Regions from separate parts of the Homo sapiens genome. Here region 2 is linked to region 1. Evidence: promoter capture Hi-C in human tissues and cell types (Jung and others, 2019). All regions are on one chromosome and are shown on one strand. The core of a region is centred on a gene start or on the middle of the fragment in contact, and the rest is flanking DNA. Distances in the headings are between cores, read along the strand shown. Region 1 holds the start of SCN3A (sodium voltage-gated channel alpha subunit 3). Region 2 has its middle 95 kb from the start of SLC38A11.

Region 1 (3,248 bases), core at 499-2,998:
TAAAAGCTAACATTTGGGGCCAAAATTAAGCATTCATTCATAAATGTAAACCAGTTCAATCAAGACCAGCTCTGATGCTTACTCAGAACAAAGTTACTCACATTTAGTCACCTGTAGAGAAGCATGGTGTGTACAATACACTCAAGTTAATTAACAGCCATTTCTGGGAACCCTGTCCAAAGAAATAGTTTTCTTTATCTCCTATGGTAGGAATTCTTCTGAAATAGACAAGACCCAGGGCTCTCCTCTCAGGCAACCACTATTTTGAAATGTTTTTGGGGGGACTATTATTGCTACTCAATGTAAAATATTAAGTGAGATGTCAATATTTTTCAACATATCATTAGGAATTACAGTTTGGAGGCCTTAAGTTCTATTTTTGAAGCCCTTTTAGCCAGTACTGACTGGAAGCCCTGTTGAAATCAGAAGTCTTCATTTCATATAGGGCACACTCTATTTGGAGTGAATGTGATGAAATGTTTCCATGCAAATTCCTACAAGCACTTATGCCTTTATCTTTGTCCTCATAAGCCACATTATACTACCTGTTGTGTATTTTAAAACCCTGTATGATTTTTAAAACTTATCTTTCAATTAATATGTATAGATTTTCTGTCAATAATTTCTTATTCTAATTATGTGGTGGCTAACTGAATGAAACATTTATGGTTATGATATAGAATATTCTAAATACAACTACAGACAATATGGATCATAGATAAAGTAAATTATTGTTTTATGGCTCCAGTGGTTCTTCCTGGTAATTAATAAAAATAAACAGTTATTAAATATATACAGAAAAACAGCAATCTATCAAGCTTATAGAACAATTAAGAATATATAATAATCTTTAAATCAATAAATTAAAAGGTAAACATTTAATATAAAATGAATATATTAAAGGATAAAGAAGTAGCATATTATGGAACATATAGAGATTATTTTATTTTTTGAAGGTTCAACCTCTTTTAAATGGTTAGTATTGGTGTTCTTTTCTCTATGAAAACAGATTTTAGAGAAAAATGATAGTGTATTTCACAAAGCCAAACACCTCTATATTGTTATCACTCCCTATATGCATGGCCTCTCTAAAGCTGTTAAATAAAAAACTAAAGCACAAGAATGATAGTTCCAATTTCACTATACATTTATGTTTAAAAAATACTGGACACACTGGGCATTTAAATAGATGACATACAGCCAGGAAACTCATTAGACTAGCTTTAAGTATAATAAAAAATATTTTTTCTGAATACAATTAATCATAAGCATCTACAAAAACACAAGACCATTGATGCCTAGTATGTACCATAAATCACCATTTCCAGACAGGCTCTATTTTCTTTGAAAGATAAAGAAATAGTAAGCAGTTTACACATCAAACGATGCCTTTGGTTCCTGTAATTTACATTTAAACAACACTGGGTTAAAAATAGCAGCATGAAGATGATTTTAAAGTAAGGAAAATGACCTGGTAGCTAGGTTCTATGGTGCAGATAATGAAATGTTTTGTCAGCTTACCTGATAAAACAGAGCCTTATGAATTACAGCATAACAAAGCCCAGCATCCAAGATGGTTAGGGTATAACGTGTCTTCCTCTGCAGCTGTTCAGCTTTTTTTTTTTTTTTTTTTTTTGACCACAGAGGTTTACAAATTAGTTACAATTTTTTTTCTTTCTTTCTCTGTGGATAAGAAAACAAAGAGACCTTTCCAGAATCCTCTCTGCTTATGCCTCCGCTTCCTGTTCTGAGATTCACTCTATGGTACCCAACATATATCAGAAAACAGCTTTGAGGAAAAAAAAAAAGAAAGAAAAAAAGGCCGATCGCACTCAAAGTGGTACCGCCATCTACTGGCGGACACACACAAAATTGAGCCAAAGAAAAAACATTCCCATTATCCTCTGTCACAGGGAGGAAAGTAAACCTGCATGAAGCATGGGTAGTCATGAAAGTGCCCCAAGATGACAGTAGAGAGGTGATGTGAGCTAAAATTTCCCAACACACTAAAAAAATGTAACTTATCTACTACATATAAATATGTATGAGACCTTTTACATATTCAGTTATTTGCATCTCACTAATTTTTTTAAAAAATTTTATCACTTTGTTGTTTTGCATGATTGTTTCACACATAAACTACTAAAATTAAAAGATATATAAATTACTGTTTGAAAAATAGGTTTTAAGTTTACATTACCCTTTACGTGTAGAGTTTTGCGAAAGCTCCCTTGTGGCCTGCTCTAGTCTTTTGAAAACCTTTTCTCTTCCTGGGATGAATTATTTTCAAGGTGAGGAATTTGACTCCTTAGAGAACAGTGTAAACACATACTCACTGATAGTATTTTTGTGTTGCTTTCTGGTAAAACATTTGCAAGAAATATCTAAATGTAGAAAAAGATTCTATACATCAGTGAACCTAGCTAATATTATTTATTAGGATATTGAAGCACACAATACATAAAGAAAATAAAAATAATCCATCAGTTATTAAGATATTTCTCAATCCAGATGTATGTTATTGTTTCATCTGACCTTTCATATCTACTTTAGAGCAAACAACTATGATTTTATTACAGTTTATCATCAATTAAATAAATACATTCATATTGACAAACCAACTGTATGGATGGACAAAAATGATGTCAAGTATTATATTAGACTTGAAAAGACACAGAGAGAAACACACAGTGCCTGCCATAAAGGAGCTCATACAAAGAAGAAAAACAAATATAGCTGATACCATATTTCCCAGCCATGTGTTCAAGAACTGTTAATTACATACTTCGTTTTCAATTGTGGCCCCCATTTTGTCTAATGGCAGAAAAATAAATCTAGTCAGTTCCAGGTAAACTAAATTACTTGAGGCTTTTCCCAATGATTTTGGGTTTGCATTCAACCAATACATGATTTTCCTCTTCTATCTCTCCTTCTCATGGAGACTGATCTAAGTTCAGGATTGTGTACATATATAGAGAAAGCAGAGTATGATCCCGTTCCCCCTTTCTCCACATGGGCATCCACTGAGGCCAGGAGTCCTGCATGATCCATGACCATCATTATCCCTCATATCTACTAACGTACCCACAGGCCCACTGGGCCCCGGGAATAGCATCCCTCCAGCTTTGCATGGCAGCATCCCCTCTTTGTCACTTCTTCCTCTAAGGAAACTTTTGTTCCTGTCCTTTAGGAGGAGAGAAGAAAAAGCAGCATGTTCCCAGGGTCACTCTTGGCTGTAATTGGCTGAC
Region 2 (3,248 bases), core at 212-2,711, 150 kb before region 1:
TAATTTTTTGTATTTTTAGTAGAGATGGGGTTTCACCATGCTAGCCAGGATGGTCTCGATCTCCTGACCTCGCGATCCACCCGCCTCGGCCTCCCAAAGTGCTGGGATTACAGGCATGAGCCACTGCGCCCAGCCCGTGAATGCTTTTAACAGATAAACTTTTGGCCATTTTTAGAAGCAATTTATGTGATATTGAGTATTCTTAAACTACTATGTTATTTTTACTTTTTGGTCCGACATTTATAGAGCAGTAAAAACATTCTGAAGTGTATCATTTTAACCAAATACACTTCCATTAAATCTATTTTTATTTTTGCTTTAAATCTTGTCCATACCTTCCTACACCACCCTTTATCACCTATTCACTAGCAAATCAAGAGCTATTATTTTTGTAGTTTCAGAAAAACTTCAAGTTTAAAAGCTGCCCATTGTATTTACATTAAAAATTATTATTATTATTTTCTGAGACAGAGTCTCATTCTGATTCTCAGGCTGGAGTACAGTAGTTCAATCATAGCTTATGGCAGCCTTCATTTCTTGGGCTCGAACAATCATCCCACCTTAGTTGCCTGAGTAACTGGGACTTCAAACACTCACAACCATGCCCAGTTAATTAAAAAAAAAAAATTGTAGAGATGGGGTCTCACTATGTTGCCCAGGTTGGTCTTTCCTGGCCTCAAGCAATTCTCCATCCTTGGCCTCCTAAAGTGATTGCAAATTTCCCTAAATTAATGTCATACACCAAGCCACAGATCCAGGAAACTCAGAGAACACAGAGCAGGATAAATGCCAAAAGAGCTATGCCTAGGCATATCATATTCAAACTAGAAAAACATTCAAGGGTAAATTAAAAATCTTGGTAGAAGCCAGAAGAAAAGAACATCTTATCTATAGAAAACCAAAGATAAGGATTACATCGAACATCTCCTCAGAAACCATGCAAGCAAGAAGACAGTGGAGTGAAATAAATTCAAGGGTTAAAAGAAAGAAAACACTAACCTAGGTGTCAGTACCTTATAAAATTTTCCTTCAAAAGTGAAGAAAAAATATTAGACAAACAAAAACTGAGAAAATGTGTTGCCAGTAGACTTGCCTTGCAAGAAATGTCAAAAGACATTTTTTAGAAAGAAGGAAAATAATATAGGTCAGATACTTAGTTCTATATAAAGAAAGAAAGAACATCAGAGGAGGCAAAAGTTAAGGTAAAGTAAAAACTTCTATTTTTCTTATTTTTAATTGACCTTACAGATAACAGTTTGTTCAAAATAATAACAACAATTAATTCAACTGTGTATGCTTATATCCAACTATCTATCTAGATATGCTTATGTATACTTATGTATAAGTGAAATGAATGTCAATAATGATACAAGGGATGGAAGAAAGGAATTGAGATTATTCTGTTACTATAAGATACTTGTACCACCTGTGAAGCTATACAGTGGCATTTGAAAGTAGACTTGGATTAATTGTAAATGTATAATTCAAACTCCAAGGCAACAACTAAAAAAAAGTAAAAAATAAAGTATAATTGGTATGCTAAGAAAGGAGAGAAAATGGAATTATATAAAAGGCTCAATTAAAACTGCAAAGAGGCAGAAAAAGTATGAAAGACAAAAAGGGAATGAAGAACAAAGGCAACAAATAGAAAATGGTAACAAACATGGTAGATATTAATTTAACTATATCATTTATTACTTTAAATGTCCATTTTCCAAATATAACAATCAAAAGCCATAAATTGTCAGAGTGGATGGAAAAATAATCTCCAGCTCTATGTTGTCTACAAGAAACTCACATTACACATAAAGACATATATACATTAAAGGTAAAGAAATAGAAAACCTATACCATGCTAACATTAATCAAAGGAAAGCAGTAATACCTATATTAATTTCAGACAAAATAGACTTTAGAGCAAGTAACTTTATTGGATAAAAATAGGCATTGCATAATGATAAAGGGTCAATTCCTCATGAAGACATAACAATGCTTAACTTGCATGTGCCTAAAAAAGGAGCATCAAAACAAGTGAGGCAAAAACAGATAGAACTGAGAGAAGAACTAAACGAATCCACTATGTAGTTGGAGGCTTCAACACCTCTCTATTAGAAATGAACAGATTCAACAGACAGAAAATCAGTAAGAATGTAGTTGAACTCAACAACACTATTAATCAACTGGATATAATTGACATCTATAGTCTACTTCATCTAACAATAGCAGAATACACATTCTTCTCAAGCTCACATGGAATATTTACCAAGAAAAGCCACATTTTGGGTGATAATACCTACTTTAATAAATTTTAAAGAATAGAAATCATACAATGTTTGCTCTCAGAACACAGTGGAATTAAACTAGAAATCAATAACAAAAAGATAACTGGAAAAATCCCAAAATACTTGCAGATTAAGCAAAACATCACTAAGTAACATGTGGATCAAAGGAGAAATTTCAAGAGATGACAAAAAAAAATTTAATAAAATAAAAATAAAAGCACAACAAAATTTTGGGGATGCAGCAGTGAAAGTAGTGCTTAGAGGAAATTTTTTAGCATTCAATGCATATATTAAAAAATAAGAAAGATTTAAAATTAAGAATCTTAGTTTCTACTTTAAGAAACTAGCAATGGAAGAGCAAATTAAATTCAAAGTAAGTAGATGAAAAAAGATAATAAAAAATAAAGCAGAGATCAATGAAATTTAAAACAGGAAATCAACAGAGAAAATCAACGAAACCAAAAGCTTGTTCTCTGAAATTATCAATAAAACTAATATGCCTCCAGCCAGGCTAAGAAAAAAAGAGAGAGAGAGAGAGAGAACACAAATTACTAATATCAAAAATCAAAGAGGGGACATTACCACAGATTCCATGGATATTGAAAAGACAATAAAGGAACATTGTGAAGAATGCTATGCCCATAAAAATAATAACCTAGATGAAATGGACCAGTTCCTTGAAAAGCACAATCCGTTAAAACTCAAATAAGAAGAAATAGACAATCTAAATAGACTGATACCTATTAAATAAATTGAATCAATAATTAATAACCTTTCAAAATAGAAAGAACCAGGTCCAGATGGGTTTACTCATGAATTCTACCAAACATTTAAGAAAGATGTTACACTAATTTTCTACAATATCTTCCAGAAGATAGAAGCAGAAAGGAAGACTTTCTAACTTATTCCAAGAGACCAGCATTATTGTAATACTAAAACAAGACAAAAACATTACAGAAAAAAAAC

What was found. The method cuts DNA at HindIII sites, captures the fragments that hold promoters and counts their contacts. A contact is called where the count stands out against the background at its distance.
Region 2: a contact is called between a fragment that was not itself captured here and the fragment with the promoter of SCN3A in region 1, in 1 of the 25 tissues and cell types used here (mesenchymal stem cells).

The regions. Positions count from the first base shown.
Region 1 is chr2:165,202,302-165,205,549 of GRCh38, forward strand. SCN3A (sodium voltage-gated channel alpha subunit 3) reads right to left here and starts at 1,749. Exons shown (of 28, transcript NM_006922.4): 1 at 1,522-1,749. The HindIII fragment of the contact is 11,221 bases long and covers 1-3,248 here.
Region 2 is chr2:165,048,861-165,052,108 of GRCh38, forward strand. No RefSeq gene overlaps it. Among named protein-coding and RNA genes, the nearest start is that of SLC38A11, 95 kb to the left of the region's middle. The HindIII fragment of the contact is 4,338 bases long and covers 1-3,248 here.